Regions from separate parts of the Homo sapiens genome. Here all the other regions are linked to region 4. Evidence: promoter capture Hi-C in 16 types of primary human blood cells and fetal thymus (Javierre and others, 2016). All regions are on one chromosome and are shown on one strand. The core of a region is centred on a gene start or on the middle of the fragment in contact, and the rest is flanking DNA. Distances in the headings are between cores, read along the strand shown. Region 1 overlaps PABPC1 (poly(A) binding protein cytoplasmic 1). Region 2 has its middle 5.9 kb from the start of MIR7705. Region 3 has its middle 110 kb from the start of PABPC1. Region 4 holds the start of ZNF706 (zinc finger protein 706). Region 5 has its middle 55 kb from the start of YWHAZ. Region 6 has its middle 100 kb from the start of YWHAZ. Region 7 overlaps YWHAZ (tyrosine 3-monooxygenase/tryptophan 5-monooxygenase activation protein zeta).

Region 1 (2,914 bases), core at 40-2,539, 490 kb before region 4:
ACATTTCAAATTTCAACATACAAAGCCATGAAAAAAATTTCAAAGCTCCGTAACTTGACTCCTCCCTCCCAGCCTTCTATGCCCCAGGTAGGTATACTTTTCCATTGAAAGACCTTTTATTATTAAGAAGGTAAACACCTTCCCTCCCCTGAAGGATTCCTCCTTCCATTTAAGGAGGTACACTTTAAACGGCTGTAAAAAGTTTTATTCTCAGCTCTAGCACAAAAGAGTTGCATTTTTTACCCAATAATTTGATTTTTTCCCTTTTCTATAGAGACAGTATATCATTCCATTGCCCAGGCTGAAGTGTAGCAGCACAATGAATAAGCTCACTTTAACTCAACTCCTGGGCTCAAGTGATCCTCCTGCCTCAACTTACCAAGTATCTGGGACTACTGGCCCACATACCACCATGCCTGGCTAATTTATTTTTTGTAGAGATAGGGTCTTGCTATGTTGCCCGGGCTAGTCTAAAACTTGTGGCTTCAAGTATCTTCCCTCTTTGACCTCCCCAAGCGCTAGGGTTACAGGCATGAGCTATTGTGCTAAGACCAATTTGATTTTCTTTGTATCAATTAAGAAACAAGTATTTATTAAGCCTTGGCCTACCCGACTTTCAACAGGAGTGGAAGGAATACATAGTTGGACTCTTTGGTAAGACATAGGTAATACAGGAATTTGAAAGACAGGGAAAAAAAATTCTTTTTAAAGACACAGGTGAACTACCTGGAAGAGGAAGCATTTATTTCTGAAGACATGTTTTCCCCTAACTCCCTCTAAAGTAGGAGAGACAGGTAACTGAGGCGGGTGGTATCTCAGGCAAGTGGGGCAGAAAAGGTTAAAAATCACATTTGATTACAGAAATTTAGAAGATGTATGGGCCAAGGCAGATTTTCTTCTGAATGTGCCTCTCTCCTGAGGCCAAAGTCAAGAAAATATGACATATTCACATATTTGTGGTCAACTTATGCAGCATTACTCATACGGTAGGTAGTTAACATCAACTTTTACAAACAGCTTCTAATTATAAGACATTAAGAAGCATGACAGTTGAAATATATAAAAGGCAGTAGCTAAATTTGGGGGTTGAGATGTAAACATGATGTCACTTTCTATGTTTTATATCATCTATCTTTGTGCAAAATGGTACTTTTTTGCTCTAGTGGAGGGCTTGATGTGACATGCTAGCATGGCAGTAAGATATTAGATTTCCTGGCCAGGCACAGTGGCTCACACCTGTAATCCCAGCACTTTGGGAGGCCGAGGTGGCTGGATCACTTGAGGTCAGGAGTTGGAGACCAGCCTGGCCATCACGGTGAAACCCCGTCTCTAATAAAAATACAAAAATTAGCTGGGCATGGTGGCGCACACCTGTAATCCCAGCTACTCAAGGTAGAGATAGGAGAACTGCTTGAACCCGGGAGGCGGAGGCTACAATGAGCCGAGATCACGTGACTGCACTCCAGCCCGGGTGACAGAGCAAGAGTCAAAAAAAAAAGTATTAGATTTCCTAATTCTTTATTATTTGACATATTAAAAAAAGCAAGACACCTCTAAGTTCAACACAAAATGCAAAGGGTGGGGTCAAGCAAATCATCTGCACATGAACACTTAAAAGTTATTTTATCTGTTATACCCCTACCTAAACTAAGGCTGGTTTGTGCTTCATCAATTTCAAGTTTTATGAAGTTATTTTTAAATGCAGGAAATAAGTACTTTGAATCACTGGAAAATCTGAATTTTTGGTTTCATCGCTGAAAGTCATTGTTTTAAACTGCTCAAACATGATGTTACTTAGACTGACCAGCTTTATTGTTCTATGAGACTGCATTCCACTGTAGGCTGGCTGTGTCAAATATATGCTTCTGATGACATGGGATCTCTAATTACACACACACACACACACACACACACACACACACACATATATATCTCCAGCCTCTTAATGTAGTAAAATATTTTAAAATCTGTTCTAATTACTTAGTCATACCTTACTGTGCTAATCTAATGCTATTAACCTTTAACCTGGATAGAATTCTATTTATTTGCATTATACTACTTTGTAGTGTAATAGATGGCCAGCAGCTTAATTCAAATAACCACAAATATTTTAAAGTACCATGTAAGTCTAATTTTATTGACTTTTTTAGTATAAAGTAATAGCTAAAATTAACACTGAGCACTAATTCAGAGCTTTGTGTGTAAAAATTTAATTAAGACACATTACCAAACTTGCCAAAGAGATCCTTAAGGCGCTCATCATCCATGTCTTCTCCAAAATTCTTGATGTAAACATTGGTGAATTCTTTTGCCCTAGCTCCAAGTTCAGCTTCTCGTTCTTTACGAGACTTAAATCGTCCAACAAATCTAATAAGATATACAAGGACTATAACATTAGATTCTATTTTATAAAGTTCAGATTAAGTAAGCCTGATGGTTGGTTTTGTTACTGTTAATGAGAATATTCAGAATCCCTAATAAAAAGCACACTACAAAATAGAAATAGGGCCATAATTTAAGATATGACACCATGAAATATATGAATAAGCCTCTAACTACAATCACAAAAAAAAAACCACTTCTTTTAATACACACTTCTCTTCTCTAGCTAACCTAGGGTTAAAGGGATCACTCCCATCAATACAAATGAGTGGAAGTGCATGTGTACCATGCCAATAAAAAGACCTCTATCAAATTAAAAAGCTTTCATCGTCATTTTAAAGTGGCGCTTGCGCTTTCTTTGCCATCTCCTAGAATAAAAATTTAAACTTCCCAATCGTGTACTCTAACACACAACAGCCTGACATAACTGCAGCATTTTCAACAAAATGACACTAAAACTTAATTTTTTCTGAATATAACAGTAGTAATTCAGAACAAGGATCACTGGGCTAGGCAGTGGCTCACACCTGTA
Region 2 (2,853 bases), core at 298-2,797, 510 kb before region 4:
GTAATCGGTGTTTTATCCAACATATTTCTTAATAACTGTTGAGAAAAGGTTGAGACATCTTCCCAATTGGCACAGAAGTGCAATACAAGGCCAGAACATTAATTTCACGTTTTATTAAAAATTCATGGTAATTAAAAGGTTTTCGTTAAGTCTATTTATCAATTCTAAGAGAACCTAGAACAGGAATATGAACAAGCTCAGCAAAATGATCACAAGGCCACTAAAAGAATGTCTGATATTCCCCAGGCAGTCAAAGATGCTCAAAGGAAGAAAAGTATCCTGACTTAGAATTTTATACCCAGCACGGTTAAAGATCTCCTTTTTCTTCTGTTTTTTAACTTTTTTTCTTCTCTTTCAAGACAACTCGTCACTAGGATTCCTTTTCTTCTAAACAATGACTTTCTCATTCTTTTTGGCTGTCTTAAAATGTGACAACAAAAAAGCATCTTTGCACATTAGGAAGCCGAGGCAGGCGGATCACTTGAGGTCAGGAGTTCGAGATTCGCCTGAGCAACATGGTGAAACCCCATCTCTATTAAAAATACAAAAATTAGCTAGGCATGGTGACATGCGCCTGTAGTCCCAGCTACTTGGGAGGCTGGGGCAGGAGACATGCTTCAACCCGGGAGGTGGAGGCTGCAGTGAGCTGAGATCGCACCACTGCACTCCAGCCTGGGTGACAGTGAGATTCCGTAAAAAATACAAATTTAAATTAAAAAAAAGAAAAAGGAACTTTGTTTTTGCTTTATATTTCATGCTTTAATAAACATAAAAATTTGCTGTCTCCCCATCCCCCACCTCTCAGACTGAAGGTAGTCCAAGTACCTGAGATTTTATGGAGTTTTACTTTTTTATAGTTTATAGGCAGTTTATGCCAAGCCTAAAAGTGTGAACTCTAGTCTGTATGTAGGCTTGGATTTAAAGCCCAGTTCCACCTCCACTTACTATGTGACTTTGGACAAGTCGCGGTTCAGTTTGATGCTTCAGTTCCCTCATCTGTAAAATGGGAATATATTACTGAACCAATTTCATAGGGTGGTTTTAAGAATTAAATGATATAGTGCAAGTAAAGAGTTTACTTGTTAAGTAAACACATACATATACTCAATATTAGCAGTTACAAATGTTAATTCCGAGTTGGCTCTGGTAAATTTTTTAAAAATTGGTTGATTAAAAAACAGGCATATCGGCCGGGCACAGTGACTCACACCTGTAATCCTAGCGCTTTGGGAGGCCTAGGCAGGATGACTGCCTGAGCTCAGGAGTTTGAGACTACCCTAGGCAACATGGTGAAACCGTCTCTACTAAAAATACAAAAATTAGCCGGGCATGGTGGCAGGCGCCTGTAGTCCCAACCACTTGGGAGGTGAGGCAGGAAAATCATTTGAACCCAGGAGACGGAGGTTGTAGTGAGCGGATATCGCACCACTGCACTCTAACCTGGGCGACAGAGCAAGACTCCATCCCCAAAAAAATCACTACTCTATACTTCTAAGAATCTTCTAAGAATCCCTGCTTCTTTTTAGTGCACATGAGCTTGGTTCCTCAGGCAATTATTTTATAATCTTCATTGCTGGCCATAATTGCAGTGCCACCAAATTACCACTGCATCACAAATGGATTTGTAAAGAATAGTCACCCATACTTATAAATGATTTGCTTATAAAAATATCTGTTAAAGCCGGGCGCAGTGCTCACGCCTGTAATCCCAGCACTTTGGGAGGCTGAGGCAGGTAGATCACCTGAGCTCCCGACCTCAAGACCAGCCTGACCAACATAGAGAAACCCCGTCTCTACTAAAAGTACAAAATTAGCTGCATGTGGTGGCACATGCCTGTAATCCCAGCTACTCAGAAGGCTGAGGCAGGAGAATCGCATGAACCCGGGAGGTGGTGGTTGCAGTGAGCCAAGATTGTGCCATTGCACTCCAGCCTGGGCAACAAGAGTAAAACTGCATCTCAAAAAAAAAATCTGTTAAAAATATTAAGTTAAAAATTTAAAGGACTTGTTTAGCATATAATCTGGCATTTAATCCATTTTATATTATAACTTTTTATTCTTAATAGTAAAAATGTCTTCTACTGATTTAAATAGTTTGGGAAATATTAACATTTAGGGGCTGATAAAATAATTTTGAATGTCAGGCTGGCCATCTACCTGGCAATACGAAATAAGCATAATAAAAAATATTCCATGTACCACACATTTTTTTTTTACTTGGGGTGGGGTATAGAAACAAAAACCCATCACCAATCATAAATCCATCTGTTCACGTATGCCTTATCAATGATCATGTATCTTGTGGGAACTTTCTGAAAAGGACAAATGTTCCAACATGTAGAGCTTTTTCTCTGCAGAAAAAACATCAGAGCTAATCAAAAGCCCATGTTGTTTCCTTTTCTGGGGATATTGTCAGTAACAAAGTAAATAAATTGCATGTTTTTCTACCTTTTTAGATAATACAATATTTTGCAAACTTGCCATGATTGTGAGGGTCAAATAAACGAATACTATCTAAAATTTAAAAATTAGGTTATCCTGGCTGGGCGCGGTGGCTCATGCCTGTGATCACAGTACTTTGGGAGGCCGAGGCGGGTGGATCACCTGAAGTCAGGAGTTCCAGACCAGCCTGGCCAACGCGGCGAAACCCGTATCTACTAAAAATACAAAAATCAGCTGGGTGTGGTGGCACGTGCCTGCAGTCCCAGCTACTCGGGATGCTAAGGCAAGAGAATTGCTTAAATCTGGGAGGTGGAGGCTGCAGTGAGCCGAGATTGCACTACTGCACTCCAACCTGGGTGACACAGCGAGACTCCATCTCAAAAAAATAATAATAATAAAAAATAAATAAAA
Region 3 (2,902 bases), core at 185-2,684, 370 kb before region 4:
GTTATCTATAATCATAAGAGTCAAATCCAAGGCTTGTTACAAAAATTAGCAGATCTCTCTCACTCCATTTCCTGATCTCTAAACAGAACCACTTTCAAATCTCTAGATAATTTTATACTATATTCTATAAATTTTCAGTTTCAGGTGTATGTTGTCAACTTCTTGCGATGGAAAATAAGGCCTTTACTTTCACTCTCGCTCTCTCTCTCGCTCTCTTTATTGCTCTCTCTCTCTCACATACACACATTCACACTTTCTGACTTCCTGTCTTCCTGAAACAATTACATAAGCTTTGGTTAGACACATATTCAGTGTTGTATTGGTCAAGTCTAATCAGGAGTTAGAAACCACAGAGTAATTGGTACATAGAAAGTTTAATATAAAGAGTTATTCACTACAGTATAGGATTATCTATCAAGGGGGAAAGAGAACTGTAAAGAATGCCTAGAGGTGGGCAAGTGTGGGAGACCAGAGTACCCCTCCCCAAAGTACAAGGGATTATCAAGCTGAAGACACTTAAGAAGAAACAAACGCACCAGAGCGCTCTGCCCTCTGTTGGGGCTTGGAAAACAATGCCCTGCAGTACGGCACTTTGGCGGGTTGAGCACTTTGATCTCAAGGAGACTGGAAGGCTCCAGAAGCAAGTTCTCTCTGATCTTTTCTGTTCTATCTCTCCTGCCTCTTTTTTCCCCCAAAGCAAGTCATGGACACCAGAATTCCACTTCCCCAAGGCTGGTTATTAGAAACTGATCCCCTCTTCTCCAAAGCAAGCCTTAAAATGAGACATATCATTCTCATCTTCCCCATCTTTCTGTGTAGAAGCTGGCCATAAAGACATTCTCCGGCCTGCCTTGCCAAATAGTTGGTCATAAGACTCCCATTCCAGAGGGGTCCTGCGCTATCCCCCGAGCAAGGAATGCTGCACAGAGAAGCCAAGAAGAATCTGAACATACAGGCTTTGCCGGGTCTCCCCACTCAATCCATTATCATTGGATCATATTGTTGTTGTCCAGTCACATTTCTACATGCCTGCCCATTTTTTATTTGACTTAAGCATAAAAATAGACAATTTTCCCTGGGTCTTTAGGACTTTATTTCTGAAGTTTGCCGTGTCATGTAAAACTTTGATTAAATAAGTTGTGTTATGTTTTTCTCCTGTGAACCTGTCTTTGTTATAGGAGTTGTCGGCCATGACCCTTATGATGGGTGAGGAAAGGGATCACACCTTTTCTGCCCCTGCATTCTCCTCTATTTGCCTAAAAGAAGAATATAGATCTATAAAGAAAAAGGGCATCTGTATGAGTCAGGGTTCTCCAGGAGGACAGAACTAATAGGATATATGTGTATATAAAAGAGAGTTTACTAGGGAGGATTGGCTCACACAATTACAAGGCAAAGTCCTACAAGAGGCCGTTTGCAAGCTGGGGAGAAGGAAAAGCTGGTAGTGGCTCAGTCCAAGTCCGAAAGCCTCAGAACCAGGGAAGCCAACAGTGCAGCCTTCAGTCTGCGGTTGAAGGTCCGGGAGACCCTGGGAAGCTGCTGGTGCAAGTCCCAGAGTCCAAAGGCCAAAGAATCTGGCGTCTGATATCCAAGGGCAGGAGGAGCAGAGGCAAGCACCCAACGTGGGAAGAAGAAAGAGAGCCAGAGGACTCAGCAAGCAAAGTTACCCCACCTTCTTCACCTGCTTTGTTCTGGCTGTGCTGGCTGCCATTGGATGGTGTCCACCCACACTGAGGGTGAGTCTTCCTCTCCCAGTCCACTGACTCACATGTCAATCTCCCCAGCACCCTCACAGACACACCAGAAACGATACCAGCCACCTAGCATTCCCCAATCCAGTCAAGTTGGCACCTAATATTAACCGTCACAGTATCCTTCCTTGCTCTCTGAAGGTTACCAGTGGGCCAGATGTGGTGGCTCATGCCTGGAATCACAGCACTTTGGGAGGCTGAGGCTGGTGGATCACCTGAGGTCAGGAATTTGAGATCAGCCTGGTCAACTTGGTGAAACCCTGTTTCTACTAAAAATATACACACACACACAAATTAGCCCAGCATGGTGGCGGGCCCCTGCAGTCCCAGCCACTTGGGAGGCTGAGGCAGGAGAATTGCTTGAGCCCAGGAGGCAGAGGTTGTAGTGAGCCAAGATCGTGCCACTGCACTCCACTTGCACTCCAGCCTGGGTGACAGAGCGAGACTCCATCTCAAAAAAATAAAAATAAATAAATAAGGGGGCTGGGGGCAGTGGCTCACGCCTGTAATCCTAGCACGTTGGGAGGCCAAGGTGGGCAGATCACTTGAAGTCAGGAGTTCAAAACCAGCCTGGCCAATATAGTGAAATCTCGTCTCTACTAAAATCACAAAAATTAGCCGGGTGTGGTGGTGGACGCCTGTAATCCCAGCTACTTGGGAGGCTGAGGCAGGAGAATCACTTGAACCGGGAGGCGGAGTTTGCAGTGAGCCGAGATTGCACCACTGCACTCCAGCCTGGGCTACTGAGCGAGACTCCATCTCAAAAATAAATAAATAAATAAATAAATAAATAAAACAAATAAATAAAAATAAAGGTTACCACTGAAGAAAGCTTTAAACTGTCTCGGCCTGGAGATGAAGCCAGAGGAATGCATATGAACAAGCTTTACTAACCAGCCTTTATCTGCCAGTTCTTTGCCTTTCCTCAAGTTGCTGCCTGTAGAAACTCAAAATCCATTTCCTTTGTCCTGTCACTTCTCTAAAAGTGTACTGTTCTTTGTTAAAGATGCCAGCTAAGCTGGAATTCCAAGCCACCACTTTGAGAACTACTCATTCTCTGTGTATCTCCCATGTATTATGAAGTATATATGTGAATAAATTTGTTTGCTTTTCTTTTGTTAATTTGCCTTTTGTAACAGAAGTCTGTTTCT
Region 4 (2,726 bases), core at 81-2,580:
GAAGAGACTTAATAAAGACAGTAGTCACTTGTTCTTATTCTGAAGACAGAAAACTTAACACCAGGTAAAGGAAATGGAATAAAATAAGCTAAATGCATGAGGTAGGCCCCTAACTTCTGACAACACGCCCCATCGATTTCCTTTCTGAAAGCAGAAATTCAAACGAACCAACCACCTGCTTTTGGACAGCTCAACTTAGGACTTGCTCTCAAGCCAACACAATTTTCTACAAAATCGTAGGCAGCTACAACCGCTCCTTGATTAAATGCGACAAACTGGAGGGAAAAAGTCACTTACAAATACCTACATGCTGGTTTTTAATGCAACTCTCAGTGTGGTTTTCCGAGGGGGCTGCAAAGAGGGAAGTAGTGGAAGAAACGAGTTCTAAAATGAGGCGCTCTCGTAGGAGGCAACAAGTAAGCTCTGCCCCAAAGCTCCTTTTAAAACCAACATAAATGAGTAACAGAAGAAAAGGATTTTGGGTCCAGGAAGTAGGCTCATTCTCCATAACCATCGGAAAGGAAGAGGCCCAGGCAGCGCTCCACATCCTGACCCTAGCTTTTAACACCATCGTTTTGGGGAGAGGAGAGGAGGAACGCACCCACAGTGAGGTCTCCACCCAACACTTCTCCGACCCCAGCTTCAGCCTGGCGCACCTTCCTTCCCAAACCCGCCTCTCCCGCCTCGGAGACCCCCTCCTCCTCCCTGCCACCAAAGGCCACGCAGCCCCCATCTAGCCAGTCCTCACGGACCCTGGACCAAGACGCGCCTCCTGGAGGCCGAGACTGCCCGAAACCCGGCCCCTGCGTCCACCGGGAGCGCCACACTCTGGCAGCTGACCGGCGGCTGTCGCCGGGGGTAAGGTTACCGCTCCGCTTCCGCGGCTGGCCTGCGACCCGGCCACCTGCAGGGCCTGGCAGGCGCCCGAACTCATCCCCTTCCCGCGGCCCGCCCCGGGCCGGGCCCTGCCGCCCCCCGCGACCCCTCGCGACCCGCGGCGAGTCCCACGGTCCCCACCGCCCCCCGCTGGCCGGCCCCCGCCCCGTTTCCCGGGCGTCCCGCGGCGTCAGCACCGCCCCCGCTGCCGCTCACCCGGGCCGGGACAGTCTTGCGTCGGAGAGACAGTGCAGCGCGAGAGGGCCGGGAGAGGACGCCGGAGGGAAAGGAAGGGGGAGCGCGCCCAGCACCGCTTGGGCCTCCTCCACCCGCTCAGGAGGGGAAACACGAGAGCCGGGAGCACAACAGCCTCGCACGCCCGCCGCCGCCGCGCGCCCGCCGCCGCCTCAGCCTTAGGGGAGACCACTACGCCTCGTGCCCGCGCACGCCGCGCCGCTCTCCTCGGCGCCCCCGCCCCGCCTGCTCCTCGCAGCCCCGCCCATGTGCCTTTCTGCGGCTGCCTCCTTCTGGCCCCCACCCCGCTCGCACGCCTGCGCCCTGGCTGGTCGCGCGGGCCAATGGCAGCGCGCCCCTATTACATAAGCGCGAGGGGGCGGGCCCTGGCTGACACAAACTTCAGGGGACGTCGCCTTCTGTCCCCAGGCGCCCCTCCTCTCCGGCGCGCTCGGTCCGGGCGGCTTCTTCACCCAGCCCTGGGAGCCACGTGATCCCGGTCCTGGTTGGTGACCGGGCCGCGGCGTGTTTCACAAGTCGCTCGCTCGCTCATCCACTCGGGCGGCGGCCGGGCCTCAGGCGCTGCGACCCTTTTCCCGCTCCTCCCAGGCTGACGCGCCCGTCTCGGCGCCGCCCTCCTCGGCACCGACTGAGGCGCTGGCCCGGGAGCGGATCGCGGGGCCGCGGTGGCTGAGTCACATTCCCGGAGCCCCGCCACCCAGGACACCGCGGCCCCGGCCCCCAGCGAGCCCGGCGGACCCAGCGGCTCTGAACGCGGACGCACAGCCTTTGTTCTTTCACAGCCGCCCTTTACCTCACTCCCATGGAAACCCCAGGTGTTTTCCCAAGCTGGGGGCTTTTAGTGAGTTCAAGATTCAAGCCTAAGTCGTATTAAAAATTGCTGGCTAGGCCGGGCGCGGTGGCTCACGCCTGTAATCTCAGCGCTTTGGGAGCCCAAGGCAGGAGGATCACTTGAGCCCAGGAGTTCCAGACCAGCCTGAGTACATAGCGAGACCCACGTCTCCACAAAAATAAAATAAAATAAAATAAATAGTGGAGCATGGTGGCCCGCGCCTGTAGTCCCAGCTACTCGGGAGGCTGAGGTGGGAGAATCGCTTGAGGCCGGGAGGTGAAGGTTGCGGTAAGCCGAGATCGCGCCATTGCACTCCATCCTGGGCGACTGAGTGAGACCCTGCCTAAAAAAAAAAAAAAACAAAAAAAGAAAAAAAAATTGCTGGCCAGGCTTCCCGGAGGGGTTTAGTTTGACTGCTAACAATATACGGTACTGAGTTGCTAATCCTTCGGGGAATGGTTAAAGTTCTTTGCGCGCGCTCTCTCTCCATTTACAGGCAGTGGCAGCAAACTTTCAATATCTGACAAGAGCAATGGCGATTATAACCATGATTAAAATTGCTGAATATCTGGAAACAGTACTTTAGACATCAGCTTTATTGTGCATACTTACCCCCGACCCCCGCCACATTCGTTTCTAATTAGAACTACTAGTGACAAAGGAGAAAAAAAAAAAGTGTTTGCATTGGCTGTTCTCACCTTGCCTGTAGTGCCGTTTCCCAAGTTTGCGTGGCAGTGCCCAGGAAATGTTGGCTGAATATTAG
Region 5 (2,700 bases), core at 33-2,532, 310 kb before region 4:
GCCGCAGCAGTCAGGGACATTTCTGAAGTGAGCGTCTTCGATGCCTATGTGCTTCCCAAGCTGTATGTGAAGCTACATTACTGTGTGAGTTGTGCAATTCACAGCAAAGTAGTCAGGAATCGATCTCGTGAAGCCCGCAAGGACCGAACACCCCCACCCCGATTTAGACCTGCGGGTGCTGCCCCACGTCCCCCACCAAAGCCCATGTGAGGAGCTGAGTTCTTAAAGACTGAAGACAGGCTGTTCTCTGGAGAAAAATAAAATGGAAATTGTACTTAAAAAAAAAAAAAAAAAGAATGTCCCCTCCTTTGTTTCTACATTCCTGCAGGCCTGAGTCTCTTGGACTGACCTTTTGATGCATTGGTTGGATGGGCATTGTGATCTGCTTGGTTTCTAATGGCTGAATGAGCCACCAGAGACCTTGGTGGGCCAGGAGCTGAGGAAAGTCATTCAGTCAGACACTAAAGAAAAGATGGCAAAGACTGGGCCAAGAGTTCCCTCTGCTTTCTTGTTGCTTTCATGGAATTCATTAATTCATTCTTCTTTCATTAACCAAAACATTTGTAGTACCAATAAGCCATGAGGAAAATGCAAGTCAAAACCCCAATGAAATATCACTTCACGCCCACTTAGGAAGGCTGTAATGAAAAATACAAGTAATTACAAGTGTTGGTGAGGATGTGGAGAAATTTAAACCCTCACTCACTAATAGCGGGAATGTCAAAGGATGCAGCTGATTTGGAAAACAATCTAGCAGTAACTCATGGTAACATGGAGTTACCATATGACCCGGTAATTTTACTCCTAAGTATATACCCAAGAGAAATGAAAACATCTATCCACACAGAACCTCAGGCACAAATGTTCATAGCAGCATTATTTATAATAGCCAAAGATTGGAAACAACCCAAATGTCCATCCACGGATGAATGGATAAACTGGTACATCCATAAAATGGAATATTATTTGGCAACAAAAAGGAATGAAGTACTGATACATGCCACAACATGGATGAACCTTGACAACATTATGCTAGGTGAAAGAAGACAGTCAAAAAGATCACATATTGTATGATTCCATTTATGTCAAATATCCAGAATAGGAAAGGACAAAGACTGTAGCATTTCACTAATATGAGGCATCTAAAGTAGTCACATTCGTAGACATAGAAAGTATGTAGAATGCTGGTCACTGGGGGCTGAGAGGCGGAGGAAGGGGAGTTGTTTAATGGGTACAGAGTTTCAATTCTGCAAGATGAAGTTCTGGAGATCTGTTTCACAACAATGTGAACACAATACTGAACTGTACACTTAAAATGGTTAAGATAGTAAATTTTATGACATATGATTCTTATTACAATTTTTTTAAATGTTTAAAAAATAATTCAGAATAGGTAAATCCAAGAGGTAGGACACAGATGGGTTGCTGCCTGGGGTTGGGGGGACAAGCAATGGTCCCAGGGGATAATAGGAAGTGGCTGCTTAATGGGTTTGGGGTTTCCTTTTGGGGTAATGAAATTATTTTGAAATGAGATAGAGGTGGTGGTTGCATAAATTGTGAATGTATTAAATGTCTTGAATTGTTCACTTTAAAATGTTGAATTTTCATGTTGTATGAATTTCACCTCAATTAAAAAATAAAGATAGTGACTTTTGTGGCGCATAAAACAGTATTTATTGTAATTTGATTATAATTTGAAGATTTCTTCCCCCTTATATGGGAGCTTCAAGAAGCAGTTTGCATTTGTCAAAAATGCTGCATGCTGGAGCTGTCGTGGAGGTCTGAGTGCAGAATGATAGGATGAGCCATTCTTTTTGTTAAACCTGGTAGCTTTCTGGGTTTTCCAAAATGCTAAGATGATTTTCAACATATTAATTACTGGATTGTACCCAGAATATTTGTTTAATATATATGTTTCTAGTATTCTAGATCTCCCCCTTTTTTTGAGACAAGGTCTCTCTTTGTTGCCCAGGCTAGAGTGCAGTGGCGTGATCACAGCTCACTGAAGCCTCAACCTCCCGGCTCAAGTGATCTTCCGACCACCTCAGCCTCTTGAGTAGCTGGGACTACAGGCACACATCACCATGCCCAGCTCATTTTTGAATTTTTTGTAGAGACAGTGTCTCATTATGTTGCCAAGGCTAGTCTTGAACTCCTGGGCTCAAGTGAATCTCCTGCCTCAGCCTCCCAAGGTGGTGGGATTACAGGCATGAGCCACTGTGCCCGGCCTATATCTCATACATAGAAAAAAATCCAAATGTGAACGCTTAGAATTTGGGGATTCTACTTAAAATTCTGTAAAGAATTGTTCTCTTATTAGGAGCATACTGATTAAAGGGTAACATTTTGAGGAAAAAAACATCCCACACATTAGTGCTTTAGGGGAAAATGTGGCTAGTATAAGCAGAGAAGGAATGATGTTTGCTTCTAGACCTTGCTTGTTGCTTGTAGCATTCTTGGTGGCGATGACACATGATGGGAAATGCTTTGAGGAAGAAGAGAATGGAATGGCTGAGTCTGAATTGAGCTCAGAGGCCTGACTCAATGGTTCTGTGAGAGGTACAGGCCCGGAAGAACAGCCAGGGAGACACCTGCTGATGCGAAGCTAAGAGCTGGCAGTGCTGCCCTAGTTCCTAGAGAGACCATGTCCTTCAAGACCTTGTCCTGGATTCACTGTTTGGTCCCTGGTGCAATGTGAGG
Region 6 (2,952 bases), core at 74-2,573, 350 kb before region 4:
TCTTTTTCTCACTCAAGGCTGAGAGTGAAAGCAATTTAGATTTTTCCACTCTGGAAGGGTTGTGTGGGAGCCTTAGTTAGCTGACACCATCCTTCCAATTTACTTTAATGCTGTTTGTGAGCACTTTACAGATGAATGCCTCAGCACCTGCTGACCTGCCCACCCTTCAGTCCCCATCTAGATTCAGGTCCCAGGTTAAGACATGTGGACTAGACAGTCCATGTTTAAACACCGACGAGGTCATTAGCAGCTCTGAACATGCAAATGCATTACTCTGCACCTGAAGTGCATAGGATGGGAAGAGGCGGCCAAGGAGGGAGATAGAACAATAGAAAAAGTGACTACCTGGAAGCCAACGAGTCCATGGAAGCTTTGAGAAAGGGCACCTTTATGCATTTTCTGGAATGCTGGTGTTCTAGAATCCCCAGCCAAAGCGTCTCCTCTTTGCCAGTCAGGGCACTTGTCTCAGGCTTTTGGTTTGTTTTTTGAGACAAGGTCTCACTCTCACCTGGGCTGGAGTGCAGTGATGCGATCATGGTTTACTTCAGCCTCTACCTCCTGGGCTTAAGTGATCCTCCCACCTCAGCCTGCTGAGAAGCTGGGACTATAGGTACACCACTACGTCCAGCTAATTTTATTTTTTGTAGAAACAGGGGTCTTGCTATGTTGCCCAGGCTGGTCTCAAACTCCTGGACTCAAGTGATCCTCCCACCTCGGCTTCCCAAAGTCCTGGGATTACAAGTGAGCCACTGGGCCCGACTCTGGTTTTGCATACAAGGCTGGGAGACAGGCTCTTTATGGCTGAAAGGACTCCTGTGGAATATATTTATTCATGCCTTGACTGCCAGGCCCTAGGGGTCTTGATATCAGTTGGCAGGGAAAGCCATTCTCAGACCTCCTGCCGGGTCATGTCCCATTTTGGGGCCTTCCACAGCAGGCCTGCAAGAGGATGTCCGTGGGGTGGGTTGGCCAGGGGAGCAGGGGAGCTTTTGCATCTGTTTTCAGAGCCAGGAATCCATGGGTCTAAGGGTTGTAATGATTTGGTTCATCCCCAACACAGGGTGGTGCCTGTCAGCAAGTTTGCACCACAGCAAACACTTTGTGTGGGGAATCAGGACAGCAGTGAGAGAGCTGGGGCCAGAGGGTGTCTGTCTTCTGGCCTCCAGGCAGCTTTTGCTGATGCTGACCAACTCAGCGCTAGGAGAGGCAGAATGAATAGCCTCCATGGCCTGGCTGGCAGCAAAAATTTAGCAGTCAGTATTGGAACAGTGTCATGCCTCAGAGGCCTCAGAGAGGAGAAGGCAGTGTTACAGAAAGCAGTGGCTGTCAAAATGCAGCTCCTTTTGCAGCAGTAGCCACATCACCTGGGAGAGCTTGTAAGAAATGCGCATTTTCCTCAGGTGCTGATACTTTGGGAAGCTGAGGCCGGAGGATTGCTTCAGTGCAGGAATTTGAGATCAGCCTGGGGAATATACCAAGACCTCATTTCTACTAAAAAAACAAACAGACAAAAAAAAAAAAAAAAAGCAGGCATGGTGGTGCACACCTTGTAGTCCCAACTACTTGGGATGCTGATGTGGAAGGATTGCTTGAGTCTAGGAATTTGTGGTTACAGTGAGCTATGATCACGCCACAGCATTCCAGTCTTGGCAAGACAGTGAGAACTTGTCTTTAAGAAAAAAGAAAAAAAAAGAAATACACATTCTCAGGCTCCACTCCAGATCCTTGGAATCAGAAGCTCTGAGGGTGGGGCCTGTGCAATGAGCCCTGCAAGGGTGGCAGGCTGGGGAGCAGGCAAGGGTCTGGTTGTGCAGTTCCAACACTCCCTTCACCCTTGGAGCCAGCCAGTATTCAGTCCTGGGGATCTGTGCAGGGAAGCTGCCGCTCTGCCACAGCCTGAAGTCTTCTCTGCTAAATCCTGCACTGCCCACAGCAGCCCCAGTGGCCAGACCCAGGAACCTGCAAAGCCCTGTGCCGTGTGCCCCGAATGGCATGGGTCCCTGGCTCCTGAAAGGTGCTGAGGAGGCTGGGCCCCCACACTGACATCCATTCTTGGGAACAGCCAGAGCTGCAGCAGACATGGATGAGGGGCTTCTGAGCAGGAGGGCCAGTGTGTACAAAATGCTGGGAGGTGAGTGGGCTGTCCAGGTCCCTTCTAATGGCTGACCCACTCCATGGTAAAAGAACTGGAGAGGTGGCCTGCCATCTCTGTGACTCCCATGACTGAGGCAGGATTAATGCTCACTGTGGAAGACCTCCACGATGTGGCTACGTGGGGAAGCTTTCTGTGTGTTCTCCCATAAACCAAGGGAAGAGTACTGGGGCAAAGCAGATTTTATTAGCTCATACTGAGAAGTACAGAGAGGCACAGGACACAAAAGCTTCTCTAGGGCTATTCCTAGCCTGGGGGACTCAGCTCTCAGGAGCACAGAGCCTGCAGAGAGACATGAGGAGGCCAGAGGCAGTGCCACCCCTGCTTCCAGGAGCCTTCCTTATCTGCTCTGCTGGCAGGAACTGCACCTGTGAAGTTAAAGCAGGGGGGCCAGGCAATGCAGAATGCAGATCTTCAAGCAGTGCACTTTACGTTGACCCTCTATTTACTAGAACATAGATTCATGAGTGCAATATAGATTCATCAACCCGCTTCCACTGGGAGAGTAAAAAATTAAAAAAAAAAAAAATTCCAGGGGGAGGAGCCAAGATGGCCAAACAGGAACAGCTCCGGTCTACAGCTCCCAGCGTGAGCGATGCAGAAGACGGGTGATTTCTGGATTTCCAACTGAGGTACCGGGTTCATCTCACTGGGGTGTGCCAGACAGTGGGTGCAGGACAGTGGGTGCAGCGCACCATGCACGAGCCAAAGCAGGGCAAGGCATCACCTCACCCAGGAAGCGCAAGGGGTCAGGGAATTCCCTTTCCTAGTCAAAGAAAGGGGTGACAGACAGCACCTGG
Region 7 (2,700 bases), core at 127-2,626, 290 kb before region 4:
ACATATATGCCTGCTTGTCTGGCAAGGTTGGACATCCTGTTACAATCTATATTCAGGTCTCTCCACTTTGAAAAGGAACTAGAATCAATCAAGGAGACTGTGACTACTACCAGTCACATAAAAGTATTTAATTAGTTTCACACTTAGAAAAGAATCCAAGTCTATTTTCCAAGTGCCCAGTCTCAGCCACCACTTTACTATTGTACATATTTTCAGTTCTACCATAGTATTTCCTATATGGTAAATGAGAGAATACAATCAAGCCAAATTTATTTCTTGACCTTTCCCTAGAGGAATGTGTAAGACCATCATTGAGCATAGAGCACCAGTTTTCAAAGTCAAAGTTTCACTCTCCATTTGAAGCCTGACTACAAATAACCTAAGATAGCAGCTTCCAAATTGGCTTTGACTCATTTTAAAATATGCATTGAGCCATGACAAGACTGGTGACTCTTTTGCAGGAAAAACATAATAAACAAATTGAGCCCCAAAATTAAGCCACTAGACATATTCTTTCTCTTTCTCCCCCCACCCCCTATAACAGCATGAAGTAACAGCTGTTAACTGGAAAAACAAAGACCATAAGCCAGAGCTGCAGGAAAGCCCATCGTTTTTACTAATCACACTGCTGCTCCACTTTCTGAAGGACAACTCTTAAGTGGCCAATTTAAAAAAAACATACCAGGGTGGGCACAGTGGCTCACGCCTGTAATCCCAGCACTTTGGGAGGCCGAGGTGGGCGGATCACAAGGTCAGGAGAATGAGACCATCATGGCTAACACGGTGAAACCCTCTCTCTACTAAAAATACAAATAATTAGCCAGGAGTGGTGGCACATGCCTGCAGTCCCAGCTACTTGCGAGGCTGAGGCAGGAGAATCACTTCAGCCTGGGAGGAGAAGGTTGCAGTGAGCCGAGATCAGGCCACTGCACCCCAGCCTGGGCGAGAGTTGACACTCCGTCTTAAAAACAAACGAACAAAAAAATTCCAGTACTTTACACACAAAAAGTCATTGGATTTTCCAATTTCCTGGCACTAGGATGTTACATTGACAAAAGCAGACGTAAAGCCTGGATTTGGGACAATCAAGGAATAGTTACAAACACATTATTCAAATTCCAAAACAAAGAATCTCAGGTTGGAAATTTTCCTTAATCTATTGGGAACTACTATGTAGAAAACATTAGTTAATACTAGTGAAGTGTTTTCATTATTCCAGGATCAACCTAGTTCAGATGACTGATGCACATTAAATAGGCAAATGTGCCAAGTTTCAGGTTTTATTTACTTGAATAATATCACATCTCTACTGGGCGCGGTGGCTTATGCCTGTAATCCCAGCACTTTGGGAGGTTGAGATGGGCGGATTGCCTGAGGTCGGGAATTCAAGACCAGCCTGGACAACATGGTGAAACCCTGTCTCTACTAAAAACACAAAAATTAGCCAGGTGTGGTGGCGGGCACCTGTAATCCCAGCTACTTGGGAGGCTGAGGCAGGAGAATCGCTTGAACCCAGCAGGCGGAGGTTGCACTCAGCCGAGATCGCACCACTGCACTCAAGCCTGGGTGACAGAGCAAGACTCTTGTCTCCAAAAAAAAAAAAAACAACAAAAAAATTCCCACCTCTTCAGTCTAGCTATAAAATATAATTACTTTATATATATATATATATATATATATATATATATATAATTATTTTACCTCCTTGGCTTGGGGGTCAGGAGAAATCAGTAAGTGAGGTAAAAGAAAGAGCTGCGAGGGAAAAGGATTGTTGCCCTAGATGCAGAAGGTATCTTTTCTCCTGGAAATAAAGACCCCAAGGTCTCCATTGCACTTTTATTTGAATGTAATATTTGGGACAATTATTCAAAAGGGCCAATATTTCCCAATTTAATCTGAGGTCATAATAAAACAAGCAACAAAACAGTGTTTGGGATTTCAGTTTCTCACCCTTATCATCAAGACTCACTGCCTCCCATCATCAATATTTATTGAGCATTTACAGTGTACTAGGCACAATAGAACATACAGAAAACATTGTCCCTGCTCTTGAGGAGCTTACATTCTAAAAGAAAAAATACACCTTTTTTAAAATGGCATTTTTGTTTGGTGTTTTCTGCAAAGTACTGAGGAAATATTTTGTAAAGTGAGCTTTGGGTATAACTTAGCCCCATCATTATTTAGAGAATAGAGGAGGAAGAAAGAGGAAGGATTTTAAAGGCAGACAATGACAGACCATTCAGGATAGGTAGGGTTTTAAAGGGAGATAAACACAGTCTCATCAACTAAGGAGAGATTTGCTGCAGTAAATAGGATGAGGGAAATAGTCTGTGGGATGCAAGCAAAGGAAGCAGGGTGCCTTAGACACTGAGTGGAGCCAGAAAGATCATGCGGCCTTTTTCCAAGTACATGGCCACCAAGTAAGAATGGTTGGTGACAAGACAGAAGGCTAAAACAGGAAGGTAATCTTGTGCACCTGACAAATAGAAAGAATAAAGGATCAAAATTGAAGGCAGGCTATAAGAGTATCAAGAAATTCTTAAAAACCAAAAAGTGATTTGGAAGCACAAAACTTACAGTTAATGCTACCCAATGTCATGATGGGCCAAGAACATTGTGGCTTCCTAAGTTAGAAAATGCCATATGCCAAAATTTTAAATGGAACACACTACATTTTTTTCTAATCAATCCCCCCCTCTC

Evidence for each region. The method cuts DNA at HindIII sites, captures the fragments that hold promoters and counts their contacts. A CHiCAGO score of 5 or more calls a contact.
Region 1: a fragment that was not itself captured here is called in contact with the fragment with the promoter of ZNF706 in region 4 in 1 of 17 cell types (fetal thymus); the score reaches 5.5 in fetal thymus.
Region 2: a fragment that was not itself captured here is called in contact with the fragment with the promoter of ZNF706 in region 4 in 1 of 17 cell types (neutrophils); the score reaches 5.8 in neutrophils.
Region 3: a contact is called between a fragment that was not itself captured here and the fragment with the promoter of ZNF706 in region 4, in 2 of 17 cell types (total B cells and total CD8 T cells). The highest score is 5.9, in total B cells.
Region 5: a fragment that was not itself captured here is called in contact with the fragment with the promoter of ZNF706 in region 4 in 3 of 17 cell types (total B cells, megakaryocytes and naive B cells); the score reaches 6.2 in total B cells.
Region 6: a fragment that was not itself captured here is called in contact with the fragment with the promoter of ZNF706 in region 4 in 4 of 17 cell types (megakaryocytes, endothelial precursors, M0 macrophages and 1 more); the score reaches 6.3 in megakaryocytes.
Region 7: a contact is called between a fragment that was not itself captured here and the fragment with the promoter of ZNF706 in region 4, in 1 of 17 cell types (naive CD4 T cells). The highest score is 5.7, in naive CD4 T cells.

Annotation. Positions count from the first base shown.
Region 1 is chr8:100,713,235-100,716,148 of GRCh38, forward strand. PABPC1 (poly(A) binding protein cytoplasmic 1) reads right to left here. Exons shown (of 15, transcript NM_002568.4): 4 at 2,228-2,367. Among named protein-coding and RNA genes, the nearest start is that of PABPC1, 7.4 kb to the right of the region's middle. The HindIII fragment of the contact is 2,823 bases long and covers 1-2,701 here.
Region 2 is chr8:100,695,666-100,698,518 of GRCh38, forward strand. No RefSeq gene overlaps it. Among named protein-coding and RNA genes, the nearest start is that of MIR7705, 5.9 kb to the right of the region's middle. The HindIII fragment of the contact is 5,621 bases long and covers 1-2,853 here.
Region 3 is chr8:100,832,329-100,835,230 of GRCh38, forward strand. No RefSeq gene overlaps it. Among named protein-coding and RNA genes, the nearest start is that of PABPC1, 110 kb to the left of the region's middle. RefSeq lists enhancers at 185-234, 275-384. The HindIII fragment of the contact is 2,293 bases long and covers 289-2,581 here.
Region 4 is chr8:101,204,343-101,207,068 of GRCh38, forward strand. It overlaps ZNF706 (zinc finger protein 706), which reads right to left and starts at 1,331. Exons shown (of 4, transcript NM_016096.5): 1 at 1,093-1,331. RefSeq lists silencers at 866-1,465, 1,676-1,895. The HindIII fragment of the contact is 4,829 bases long and covers 1-2,726 here.
Region 5 is chr8:100,895,909-100,898,608 of GRCh38, forward strand. It overlaps the pseudogene RPS26P6. Among named protein-coding and RNA genes, the nearest start is that of YWHAZ, 55 kb to the right of the region's middle. The HindIII fragment of the contact is 4,310 bases long and covers 1-2,700 here.
Region 6 is chr8:100,849,636-100,852,587 of GRCh38, forward strand. No RefSeq gene overlaps it. Among named protein-coding and RNA genes, the nearest start is that of YWHAZ, 100 kb to the right of the region's middle. RefSeq lists an enhancer at 1,127-1,794. The HindIII fragment of the contact is 1,911 bases long and covers 369-2,279 here.
Region 7 is chr8:100,916,754-100,919,453 of GRCh38, forward strand. It overlaps YWHAZ (tyrosine 3-monooxygenase/tryptophan 5-monooxygenase activation protein zeta), which reads right to left. Exons shown (of 6, transcript NM_145690.3): 6 at 1-2,700. Among named protein-coding and RNA genes, the nearest start is that of YWHAZ, 34 kb to the right of the region's middle. The HindIII fragment of the contact is 6,917 bases long and covers 1-2,700 here.